Regions from separate parts of the Homo sapiens genome. Here regions 1 and 3 are each linked to region 2. Evidence: promoter capture Hi-C in human tissues and cell types (Jung and others, 2019). All regions are on one chromosome and are shown on one strand. Each heading gives the region's core, a stretch centred on a gene start or on the middle of the fragment in contact. The rest is flanking DNA. Distances are from core to core; before and after follow the strand shown.

What was found. The method cuts DNA at HindIII sites, captures the fragments that hold promoters and counts their contacts. A contact is called where the count stands out against the background at its distance.
Region 1: a fragment that was not itself captured here is called in contact with the fragment with the promoter of CISD2 in region 2 in 1 of the 25 tissues and cell types used here (heart left ventricle).
Region 3: a contact is called between a fragment that was not itself captured here and the fragment with the promoter of CISD2 in region 2, in 1 of the 25 tissues and cell types used here (pancreas).

The regions. Positions count from the first base shown.
Region 1 is chr4:101,278,631-101,283,062 of GRCh38, reverse strand. All of the region lies in intron 1 of PPP3CA (protein phosphatase 3 catalytic subunit alpha), which reads left to right. Among named protein-coding and RNA genes, the nearest start is that of MIR8066, 40 kb to the right of the region's middle. RefSeq lists an enhancer at 3,237-3,531. The HindIII fragment of the contact is 3,822 bases long and covers 1-3,344 here.
Region 2 is chr4:102,866,361-102,870,860 of GRCh38, reverse strand. It overlaps CISD2 (CDGSH iron sulfur domain 2), which reads right to left and starts at 1,869. Exons shown (of 3, transcript NM_001008388.5): 1 at 1,674-1,869. The coding sequence starts at 1,776. It also overlaps a transcript of UBE2D3 not described here. RefSeq lists silencers at 1,609-1,728, 1,759-2,048 and an enhancer at 2,279-2,418. The HindIII fragment of the contact is 16,318 bases long and covers 1-4,500 here.
Region 3 is chr4:101,825,704-101,830,027 of GRCh38, reverse strand. It overlaps BANK1 (B cell scaffold protein with ankyrin repeats 1), which reads right to left. Exons shown (of 17, transcript NM_017935.5): 2 at 1-220. Among named protein-coding and RNA genes, the nearest start is that of BANK1, 37 kb to the right of the region's middle. The HindIII fragment of the contact is 3,526 bases long and covers 1-3,458 here.

The DNA.
Region 1 (4,432 bases), core at 184-2,683, 1.6 Mb after region 2:
CATTTTTAAAACATGAAGAAAGAGCTTTGATTGAGAATGTGTTAATTGTATTATGTGAACCTATAAAATTAACTCTTATTATTTAATACATATGAACCAAATAATACTTGACCCAGATAAGTGAAGGATAGATAGAAAAGAAAGGCATTTACTTAAAATGGCTGCTTATTTTATCAAAGTTAGATTTCAAATTAGAGTTGGATGAGCTGTTTTAAAAGTCCATGCTAAATATGTTGGGGACTGCCCCGGAAACAGGTTTTCCTCCTCTGTGTAAATCAGCCATGTTTCTGTGGTGCGAGGTGGGTGGGAGCCTTGCTTTACTTCCTGCATCTCAGCAGGCTCAGGAAGGGAAGCTTGCTAGGGTGTTTAAGCAGCCACATGCATTATGTTAAATTAATTCTACCCCAGTCTTTGGACATCTATTGACAATAGTATTATTTGGGTTGCAAAATCAACAAGTGAATAGACCAAAGAAGAAATGGGGAAGAACCCAGAATGAGTGTGAGTCAAACACTACCTTGACACAGGAAGCCAGGACTAGAAGCCCTGAGATCAGTCCAATCCAGGGAATATGCTGACTGCGCTGTCATTTAGAACAGGCCAGTGGAATTCAGGACCTATCAGGTAAGTCCATGTCTTACCAACTTAAAGCAATCTTCTGGGAAGAGGTCTGGACCTGTATCTAACATGAATTGTAGTGAGGTCTGTCCATCACATTTCACTCATCTAATCACCTTTGTCATTCTTCTGGTTTTCACAGATAGGATAGAAAAACTGTAGTTTTTTTCTGTTGCCACTTAGCTCTTGGTTGCAGGGGCCTCTAGGTAGGTGTGAAGTGGTTATCAAGGCTTTGACTGTCAAAAACACTTCTACTCAAAATTGGCCTTAGCAGTTAAGCCAGATTTAAAATGATTTTGGTAGTGGATTATCTAAGCTCATATAGAATAACTGCAAGTCACTTTCAAACTTGCCATAGATGCGAAGATAATATATTCTCATTTTCTGGACTAGCTTTTCCCAGGAAAAGGTATGGGGTGGAGGGATATCAAATATCAATTTTTGTAGATATGGAAAGCTCCATGAATGTGTATTTATAGGCCCCCTGAGGTCTAACTGAATGTATGTTGAATGCAGATTCTTCTGTTTTCCTCCCCAGGTTTGTCATTTGGCAACTAGTACAGGAAAAAGACCCTCAATAACTAGCAAGTCTGTCTTTGTTATATGTAGACAAGCATTTTGATTAATTTAGGGAGGATGCTTTTTTCACTATATAAAATTAAAATGAAATTATGGAAGAACCTAGTTTGTTTTCTTACTTGAGTTGAATGCTGTTTAACCACTTTCTTATTACATTCGATTGACTTAGTTGAGTTGGATGCTGAATGTTTAACCACTTTCTTATTACATTTGATTGACTTAAAAACCATCTGTAGCATAGCCTAAATAACTTAAGACTTTCAGAAAGTTGTGGCAAATTTTTTTGATACATTCTCATTCATAGCCAACTCAATTATATTAACTTTTTATACAAATCAAATTATATTATAATCCATACACATTAAATTTCACTTAGACCAAAGAAGAGCCAAGGCTTCTTTACTGGATCTCACCCCCTCTTACGTATTTAAGAGCATTGCCCCAGGAAGTCCTCTTTTCTGCATCAGCATTTTCTATTCTTTGTTGGATCATACTCATTAGCAGAAGATGCCATAGTTTTTACTGTCTTGAAATAATAAAGCTTCTCCTGAGCCCATGTTCTTATCCAGCTACTGCTGCATTTCTCTTCAGAGCAAAACTCTCCAAAAGAATTATGTACGTTCACTGTCTCAAATTGCTCTTCTCCCATTCTTCCTTGAACCCTCTCCAAAGCTTTTCCTCATTCACTGCTTCAGAGCCTTCTTTTGTCAAAGTCTCCAATAACCTCAGTGTTGTCAGGTTGAATAGCAGGCTCATCTAATTTGACTTAGCATAGCATTTAACACAGCTGATCACACTGTCTCTCCCGGAACACATTCTTCTCTGGAGTACTTGCAAATCACATGCTCTTGGTTCTCCTCCTGCATCATAGGCTGTTCTCTCTCAGTCATTTTTTTTTCCTATTTCTTCTTTGTTTCTCCAGTCTCTAACCATTTAACCATTGGAATGCCCCCTTCTCTTTTCTATATAATGCATTTGTGGAGTGAGCTCAAGCATTCTTCTTTTATGTATGACACTGATGGTTTCCAGTTTTTTTTTTTTTTTTTGAGACTGAGTCTGGCTCTGTCACCCAGGCTGGAGTGCAATGAGGTGATCTCAGCTCACTGCAGCCTCTGCCTCCTGGGTTCAAGTGATTCTCCAGCCTCAGCCTCCCAAGTAGCTGGAACTGCAGGTGCATGCCACCATGCCCGGCTAATTTTTGTATTTTTAGTAGAGATGGGGTTTCACTATGTTGGCTAGGCCGGTCTCGAACTCCTGACCTCAGGTGATCCACCCGCCTCGGCCTCCTACAGTGCTGGGATTACAGGCATGAGCCACCACACCTGGTCCGTTTCCAGTTTTTATCTACAGTTTGAATCTTTCCTCAGTGCCTCTAGTCTCATATATACAAAATACCTGCTTAACACTTTCACTTGCCTGTCTAAATTAACTTGTCCACACTCAGACTCTTGCTTTCCCTTGTTCTTTCTGAGCAGTAATGGTGGCCTTCTTGATATTTATTTAAAAAAGAAAACAGATTCACAGCTCAAGGCCTTTATATTTGCTATTACCTCTGTTTGCCATGCTTTTCTCCCAGATACCCACATGGCTTAGTCTCCCCACCTCCTTACGTCTGCTCAAATATCACTATTCTCAATCTGGCTACTTTTTCTTCTTAATTTTCTCTCTAATGCTTATTTGACATGCCGTATATTTGTCTGTTTATTGCTTTACATTCCAAGAATATATGCTCTAAGAGGGCAGTGACTTTTGTCCATTTTATTCGCTAATGTGTTCCCATTTCTTACTACAGTGCCTGGTCCATAGTAAGTGCTCAATTAATATACATTGAGGGAAAAGACTACATGAACATTACTACCACGATGATGTTATAGTTGATTTCAGTTCCAGGAACTGAAAATGTGAAAGTGCTTCCGTCAATTTCTCCTTTGAAACTTCACTTTAGATAACTTACTTCTTTAGTGAGAAACAGCAGCCCCTTATTCTTAAAGGAAGATTTCCATTGTGTGCCTTTTTCTTCTGCAGCTGTCTCTGAGCAAATTGCTCATTCTAGCTTCTTCTTGGAATGAGTCTCTTCTCTGAACTTCTCTTGGCTCTTCCCTCTTTCAGCTTGGCTTCTGTTCACGGAGCTTAGTTCTACTTCCTGACCTCACAGAGCTTGCCCTTTTTATAGTAAAAAGCCTGTGGTGATGTCATTGGCTCAGCTGGTTTCAATCAGGCTGCTCAGTTGAAGCTGATGAATGACTCTGCAAGTTATCTTTTGGAGGGCTGTACTTATTCTGATACAAAATACGCAGTTATATACAGCATTAACCATTTAGCAATTATCCCATGTGAGTCATGGGAATGCTTTTTCCCACTCTTTACTAACGGAAATTCTAATTGATCATTGGCTGCCCCACAAGCACAGCAGAGTCAGGTATCTGATGTTGGTCAACTGCTTACTGGCTCTTACTCTGCTTCTAACTCTCTAGGACCTCCTGCAGCCTTTCTCCTGCCTGTTACTTTATTCTGCTTTCTAAATGTCATTCCTTAGATCCTTAATTAAGCTACCCCAAACTTGTTTCTCACCTTGAACCTCTGCCTTACTGTTACTCATCCATTTGCTGCTCTTGGATCACACATTTTTTTTTGACCTTGCCATTTGTAAAATGTAATTGAATTGTGTGTGTGTGTGGCTACCCTTTTCTTTTTTAATTCTAGGCACTCATCTTTACTATTAATTCTGTAACAATTGCTATTTTTGACTTTAGAACATTGTCCTAACTTTTTTCAGTGAGAAGGTGATTGGTTTGTGATTTATTTCTGGTAATTTTATGCTTCTAAGTCTGATGCAAGACATTTTAATTACATTTTTTAGTTTGGAAGAGAAAGGCTTTATTGGGAAATTGATCGGTTTTCATAAAACAAATCTGTCATATTTAAAAATGGGCCTGCATAGAATATAGTGTGTATGAAAAGTGGTGGCTACAGAATCCTTGTAGTTAAAGCTCAGAAAGTTTTGATAGCCAGTGGCACAAAGGGGGCCAGATGTCCACGGGGGTGATTGTTTAAAGGGATGGTAGGGAAAATATAAAGTGAATGTGTAGAATGAAGGGGTGCTTATGACCAGGGTGAACTTCTAATTTATTGTGTAAATCAGGATGCTTTGAAGATAAAAGTTGTAACAGACATAAACTGGGACTGCCCACGCAAACCCTACCTATATATAACATTGCCGACACACCTCAGAATT
Region 2 (4,500 bases), core at 620-3,119:
TAAGGGAATGAATGGTTAGGCCCATTGTGATGTTAAAACTAAAATAAGTATTTAGTTGTTAGGGAAAAAATGAGGATTATATTAAAATATGTAAAGTACTTAAGTAAAAGAAGTGGGGAAAGCCAAAATTTTATGGAATTGCTGCAATTCTGTCAGAGTAAACTGGTAGGATCAAAAGATCTGATGTTTATAAACACTTGATGTGAAACGTTTTTCATTTTATTTTACTTTTGCATTGCTTCTGATGTTTAATGTTCCTTTTTAATGTTTATTATTGTTACCATGCTTTCTATTCAATTGCATGTTTTCTACTAAAACTCTTAATATTTAAAAAATATTAAAATCTCACAATCCACTCAACAGAGCGTCTGTCTGACCATAATTCAATGAATCTCTAGATTTGGAAGAGAATTTGTCATCTAGTTTATCCCTTCTAAATCTATCGACCACCCACCACCAGAGTCTTTTTGTTTGTTTTTTTCATCTTTGAGAGGGGCTATCACTGAAGCACCACATTTGTTTGGGGAAAGCATTCTTTAATTTAAAAAAAAATCTTCCTTAGACTGAAATTCACCTCCCAATAACCTTCACTAATTTGGTTAATTTGTTATCAGTTCTATATTTTAGTCTACACAAATCTTATTTTTCTTCTACCAGACAGCTGTGCGATTGCTGTATTTTAGGTCAGGTACTACAGATCTTTAGAACGTTCCCGGCGAAGCAACCCTATTTACCTCAGAATTATCTTAATTCATGTTTGCACTCCCTGATAACCTAGGACATAGGAGTTCAATACTTGCTGATTCCTTCACCATCCTACTCGGTCTGAGTTCCGTTTAGAAATATCCCCCTTACAATGAAATGCTCATAACTCAACACAATCTCCCAAGTGTTGACTGCATTCTGGAGATTTTCATCCTTTAGATGTGAAATCCTCATGAGTTGTGTGGGTTAAGTGAGGGTCCTTAAGTATAGAACGTTACATATATTCACTAAATTTCATTTTCTAAGATTTCACTCCTCATACCGGCCTTCGAATACTTTCTTGGGTAAGGTATCTTTCTTCCAACTTAAGTTACCGCAGCGGGCCCCGGGACCGTAGAAACGGAGATGACCTCAAATGCCACCTATGATAGGTCAATTCTAACCTGAGGGAATGGAGGTTATCTCCTAATTTCGTTACTAAATAAAACGGTCATATACGTGTTACGTGTAAGTCTATATTTCTCTCCCACACACTCCCACCCACATGCTGAGGGTACAACCCAGCCGGTAGCTGGGGCTGCCTGTTACATGAGGCCTTAGATAACGACGACTTAGCCCGCTTTAAAATAAACAAGTACGCTACAGAGAGCGATGAGCAGGACAGGAGATGAAAGAGACTGGCCTGTTCCCAACTCAGCACCTTCTCTGCAAAAACCTGGTATCTTGCCACGGAATGACACCGGAGACAACTCCGAGGACAAAAGACCCTGGGGCATCAAGCACCCGGAGACTGCCTCACAGGCGTTCCCCAGGCAGCTGCGTCGGCGCGCGCCCACCTTCCTCTGCGCGCGGGGATCACGTGCCAGGCGCCGAGCTCCGTCCCGCCCCTTGGCCCTAGGATTTTTACGCCTCCTTCCCCCGCTTGGCGAACGTGCAAGGATGGGGACTGGCTGATGGGGGAGGATTACCTGTGAGCCTAGCGAACCCGGTAATGCTTTCAGGGACTGGGAGCCGCTTCAGATATGCAGGGAGCTGCACCTTCACGATACGGGCCACGCTCTCCAGCACCATCCTGGCCAGCGGCGTCCACTCCTCTCCCGAGCCCCCTCCGCTCTGGCCAAGCTGCCGCGCCTGCGCCGGGAGCGGAAGCGGCCGGCGGGCACTGGCGGCCTCGGCCTGGGCGGCGGGCGGGGCGGCGGGCCCTGGGAGGAGAGGTGACCTGCCGGGCGCCGATTGGCGGCGGGCGAGTGACGTACGCTCGCGGCGGACTGCCGAGGCGCGGGAACTGGCGGGTAGCGAGGCCCTCCTCGGAATCTCGTGTGAAGGTGGCCCTCCTCTTGGGCCTTTAACGTCTGTAGATGCTGGAGACCAGCAGAAAGGATACTGTGTGCGATGAGATAAGCATGTGAGAATGCTTTCTAACCGAAAGTGCCTTTCAAAAGTGAGTCTCTTGCTGTCTCTACTTCGTCCCCTCTCGCCCCGCCTCTTCCCCTACAGTTTGGGTGCTGTGGCCCTAGGGTTGCATACTCGCCCATGAGTATCCTCCCCCTACCCAGACCCCAGTGCCTAATTTTACTCCTTCACCCAAAGGCCAGGCTTAAAAAAATAAAAATTAAAATATTTTAACTAAACCAGGAACTGTTTACATCTCTGCCCCTTGGCAACTTAACTGCAGCCCTAGCTCCAAAAACCTCTGGTTTTTGCCACTCAGAGAAGATTCGTAGTAGTCCTTCCTTAGATATTTTCAGTTCCTTTTCCTTCGGGAAAGTGGTAAAAGAATCCAAAGCTGGCCGGGCGCGGTGGCTCACGTCTGTAATCCCAGCACTTAGGGAGGCCGAGGCGGGTGGATCACGAGGTCAGGAGTTCGAGGCCAGCCAGGTCAAGATGGTGAAACCCCGTCTCTACTAAAAATAGAAAAATTAGCCGGGCGCGGTGGCAGGTGCCTGTCCCAGCTACTCGGGAGACTGAGGCAGGAGAATCGCTTGAACCAGGGAGGCGGAGGTTGCAGTGAGCCGAGAATGTGCCACTGCACTCTAGCCTGGGAGACAGAGCAAGACTCCGTCACAAAAAAAAAAAAAAAAAAGAATCTAAAGCCTTATGTATGGTTTTCTTTATGTTACAAGGCTTCTGCTGAAGTCTAGCGCAGGGGGTCCTTATGGCTTCCCTAGGCCACACTGGAAGAAGAATTGTCTTGGGCCACACATAAATACACTAACACTAATGGTAGCTAATGAGCTAAAAAAAAATTTTTTTTCATAAAGTTTTAAGAAAGTTTACAGATTTGCATTGAGTGGCATTCAAAGCCATCCTGTTGGGCAAGCTTGATCTTGAAGGTTTTAATTTTGTTGTTGTTGTTGTTGTTACAAGGTTTCGCTCTATCGCCCAGGCTGTAGTGCAGTGGTCAGATCATAGCTCACCGCAGACTCTAACTCCGGCTTAAGGGATCCTTCTGCCTCAGCCTTCCAAGTAGCTGGGTTTACAGGCGTGTGCTGCCACACCCAACGAATTTTAAAAATTTTTGTGTGTATGTAGATGGAGTCCCATTATATCGCCCAGGCTGGATAGTTGTTTTTATTAATATCTCTAAAAGATTTGAAGGGTAAGAGGAGAAAATTTCACTCCCTTGAAATAACTTTCTTGCTATGACTTTGTTTCATATTTTGGCTGAAGTCAAAATGTCCGAAGTTGTGCACTTGCTGATTGGATAATGTGTGTGATATCTTAATAATATGCCTCATTATTTACAGTTCTACACTTAACAACATATAATAACGAACTGCTAATGGTCCAGTATTTCATTGTGTATGACAGTGTAACAGCCAGTTATAATAAATACTTTCCATTTTTCCCCTTGGTATTTTTATTTTACAGTGAGAAAAGGAAGGAATTTTTTAAAGCAATCTTTCATTCTCTGGACTGTATAAATTTAGTGTTTGTGATTGTCCTTCACTAAAAAAGAATATCAGTAATAGAGTTGACCAAAATCTAGATTAAATAATTTTCTATCATTATAATTGTTCAAAATTGTTAAAGTAAAACTTACAATGGAAATTCTACAAACACGTTTAGATACAGGTTCATGTTTTTGAGCTAGGGCAGTATAGAAGATGGTGTATACAAAGTGATGTTTAAAAGGTTGATGGGATTTCCTTTAGAGAGAGTTTGGAGGTAAACCCTGGAGCTTTTTTATCCTGAAGATGATGGAACTTGAATATCCTTGTCCTCTGGACTATTCTGTTAACTGTTATCTTTAATCTCTGTGGATCTAATGTAGAAGCACCCTTGGGTACAACTAGATACCCTAGTTGAGGTAGGGGTAGGTTGGAAGTGGGGTACATTAGGAAAAGAAAATCTGGAAAAGGCCATTACCTATTCGTTTCTTCTCTTAGAGGATCTGTCATCTTGACAAGGGCAAGACGTGCTGTGTTGAGTTTAATTTTTCCCCTTGGTATTTTAAAGTGAGAAAAGGAAAGAATTTTTTTAAAGCAACTTTACATTCTCTGGACTGTATAAATTTAATGTTTGTGATTGTTGTGCATTAAGAATAAGACCTCCAAGCAGTTTTTCTTTAAAGAATTAAAAAATACATACCTCAATTTAAAGATATAGTAAAATGCTCAAATGCCAAATGTACAGTTCCAGGTAACCACCACCCACATCAATATACAGAATGTTCAATAGAGGCGTTTTTAAAAAGCGACCCTTCCAACCACATCCACCACCATTACTACTATTCTGTATTGCTGTGCATGTTTTTGACCCTCACATATAAGTAATTTTACAGTATGTAATTTT
Region 3 (4,324 bases), core at 446-2,945, 1.0 Mb after region 2:
TTCTTTGGAGTTAGGTCTCTAAGCAGGCTATTTGATAATATCAAAAGTTTACATTTGTAAGACGTTAAGTTCAGCAACTCCAAATGCCGAAAAGAGAAATTCTCCAAGCGATATAACAGGATGGCTTCCCTTTTCACAACATGTAAAAATACTTCTGTCAAGTACAGAGCCCATTCCTCAGCATCTTCTTCATATATCATTATTATATCTTTTGTATTTCCTGGAAAAAGAAAAAATATTTTCTTATATTTGCAATGCTATCAGCAGGTTAAATTATTATTTCTCAAAAATTTTAATATGCTCACTAGGCAATATATTAATTTGCTTATACCAGAGAAAAACTCTATGAAAGTCCTTCATAGTATAAAAAATCATAGATTAAATAAAACTAGAATTCAAAGACAAGTTGATTTAAATTTTAAAAAGAATGATATGAAAGAGTATAATAAATAAGGAAACGAGCCAAAACAATACCATTACCCAGATAATAAATAAATTAGAAAAAGAAATAAGTAGATTAGACATAGATAATGTTATAGATAATATTTTAATTTCTGGCCCAAAAGAAAAGCTTGATATTTTCATAGTAAATCAAAAAAAAACAAAGGAGGAGAAACAGAACAAGGCTAACACAATTGTTGAAAATACGATATATTTAGTTGAGAGTCAAAAACAGAAAAGATTCAGTATAAGGATGATCCAAAAGCCTGACGTAGAAGAGAATAATATACACATTAAAACACTGTAAAACATGTAATTTTTAATAATTTTTAAAATCCTTGAAATAAGAAAGATAAAGGAACCAGCTCTATGGATCAATGTGAAACAATCAGGCTCCAGCTAAAACTGTTAAAGAAAACAGATCTTGCCCGGCGCGGTGGCTCACACCTGTAATCCCAGCACTTTGGGAGGCTGAGGCGGGCTGATCACGAGGTCAGGAGATCGAGACCATTCTAGCTAACACAGTGAAACCCCATCTCTACTAAAAATACAAAAAATTAGCTGGGTGTGGTGGTGGGTGCCTGTAGTCCCAGGCACTTGGGAGGCTGAGTCAGGAGAATGGCTTGAACCCAGGAGGCGGAGTTTGCAGTGAGCGGAGATTATGCCACTGCACTCCAGCCTGGGCAACAGAGTGAGACTCTGTCTCAAAAAAAAAAGAAGAGAAAACAGATCTTGATTAAATTGTCCTTAACTTAATGATAATTATAAAATTTCTTCACATATCCAGGAAAGAAAACAAAGTCACCACAATAAGAGAAATGTGAGGTTGGTCTTGATTTCTTTAGAGCATTTTCAAGGCCAGATGAATTATAAGAAAATTTTTACAAAACTAATTTTCACAGTATATTCATACTATAAAATATTGCATAACAATGAAAAAGAATGTAACAATGCTACATGCAACATGGATGAATCGAAAGACATAATATTGAGTGAAAGAAGAAAGAGTATATATTGCATAATTGTATTTATGTAAAGTTCCAAAGCAGAAAACTTGATTCACAGTGATACAGATCTGAATATTTTAGGGTAGAATTAACAAAATAGGTATGAGAGAGCCTGCTGGAGTTCTGGATATGGTCTATATCTTGATCTAGGTGGTAGATATATATGGAGATATATATATATATATATATATATATAAATTCACTCATCTACATATCTTAGATTGTGTTTGTAAGTTATACTGCAATACACCTGCAAAAGCTATATGACTTGGGGAGGGAAAGACATAGGAAATAAATAAAGCATTTGTAACATTATCACATGTATTTGAAAATTAGAGAAAATATGCTAATAATGGAGGTTGGACAGGTCTAATAGGGCATTTACAAAAAGAATTAAAGATAGGTACATTTCAATATTTTGCATAAAAAACAAAAATGAAGTAAATATTAATTCTGGAAAAAAGCCCCAAAATTTATGAAAGAAAGCAGGATAATTATAGACTATTTGGAACAATAGTGTGCATGTGTTTATAGTTATAATAATATAAAAATTGATTAATTAATGACAAGTTGAGATTTAAATATCCTGGAGAATAAGAGAAGAGTCAGACTAACAAAAGTATACAAATACTTATCTTATGTTTTATAGGAAGACAATAGATAATAGCTAAAATTAGTAAATCAAGAAATCATAATATAAATGTATCTTTTTGAAATATGCAAAGGAATAAAAAAAGAAACTTTGAAAAAACTATGGCTTTTAAGGTTCTTAGAAGTGTGGAATAGTATTTGGGGAAAGGGAAAGTGAAGAACTGTTGATTTTCACTATGTTTTATCATTGTTTTATATGAAAGTGTAACTGTAATCAAAATTTAAATAATAGAGGAAAATCCAGCCAAAAAATAGCAGAACCAAAGTAAAGTAAACAGAAATTAAAAAAACTTTGGAAAAAGAATAGGGTGAGTTGAATACACGTACATATAGAACAACAACCAAATGCTGAGGGCATTATGATTGCACTACAAAACGCACATTTTAACTTGATGAAATAAAAGTGATTACACAGTGGGAAAAACTGAGCATTTGGGGAGGAGAAAGTAAAACATTCTAACCTCATCTTTAATAGAATTTAATCCTTTAACACTGCCTAAATTTGAAACATTAATTTAAAATAATGACTTCATTCAATATTTTTTGTATCATTTTTCCCTAAACAATAATAAATAATCTAAAAAGTAGTCAAAGAAATTTTTATCTTAAAATATATCATTAGTTTTACTTTAAATTAACTTTATATTTAAAGATAGCATGTAAACCCAAATCTCATTTTTAATAAAATAGTACCTCCATGCCTATCTACCTAAAATAATTCTATCATTAGCAACAATTGTTTATGTGAGAGAGAGGACTTTGAGAGATATATGGCTTTCTTTTTCTTCACTCTTCCATATTGCTTATATTTTTATAATAAACTTATATTATTTTACAAAACATAATCATTTTTAAAGATCAGTTTGTACAGTATTATCATGAGTACAAAGAGTGAAACGCCAAACTCTTGTCATCTTCTTCCTCTGAAAACAGAGCATGTATTTTCTACACCACTGATGTGGTGAAGAAAACCATAATGATTCTGAGAGCTTTTGTATTTTATTGAATTATTGGGTTTATGTATTTCTGTCTTTTCTCGTGATATAAATATTATCTCTGAGGGCAGATGCTTTATTTTTCAATCCAAATTCCTACACAATGCCAAGCACAATTTCTTGAACAGATATTCAACAACTTTTTTTTACATATTTATGTATGTAGAATGAGAAAAAAACATCTGGCAGAAAACATATGGGAATCACACGTAAGTTGTATATGAATCATCAATATAGTTCTGTTATTCTGTGTATAGTAGTGTAGTATCTCATCTAGCCTGGATGCTAAATAACTTGTTTAACAAACAGAAATATTATGCCATAATTCAGTATTTTTATGTTTGAGGAACGGTAGGAGGAGGGTTTTCTTCATATTGCATATAGCCAGAATAAGCTGGTCTACAGTTATAAAAATAGTAGGAGTATAAATAAAATTAATAATAATTAAAATTATCAAGCATTTAAAATAAATTAGGTCTCTATGTGTTTCACACATGCTGTTTCATTTAATTCTCACAATTACACTCTTAAGTAAGTACTAATGTTTTCCTCATTTTACAGATGGGAAAACTGAAGTGGTATTAGAATCAGGACTCCAATGCGGGCAGTCTGCCCTATACCCTATACTTTTAACTTCTAACAGCAAAGGACACAATAATATTATTTAAAAGATTACAGTAGATTATTTGCAGGGATATGAGTTAGATTAGTCAATATCAAGCAGCCTATGGGGTAGTCTTAACTATGCACAGTATGTGAAGGCTTACTGGGAGTCTGGGTTCCTACCAAGGAGAAAGAGGAAACAGAACATATCATGTACTCTAACAGTAGAGTAATCTATGAAGAATTTACAGAATTGACTTTTTGACTCTATAATTTAAATCAAGAAAATTGTAGAATAAGCTATGAGTAGATGTTAATGTAAAGAATAAATACTCCCACGTTATTTGGCTTGGTATCACAATTGGCAGACAACTATATGAAATCAAAAATAGAGACAATCATAACCTGTCTTTCAAAGCCCAAGAAAATTACACAGGTAGTCTTTCTCAATACTCTAGATGCATTTTTACTTATGTTGAAAATTGAGCCTTTTTATTTGACTTATATTTTGTCAATAACCTCATATGACAATTCTCAAAAACCTGAATTTGACATCAAATATCATTCCTTTCTTCTCTACAGATGAAATCATTTCAGTATTTTAATCTTTAGTTTTCTCAATTATTA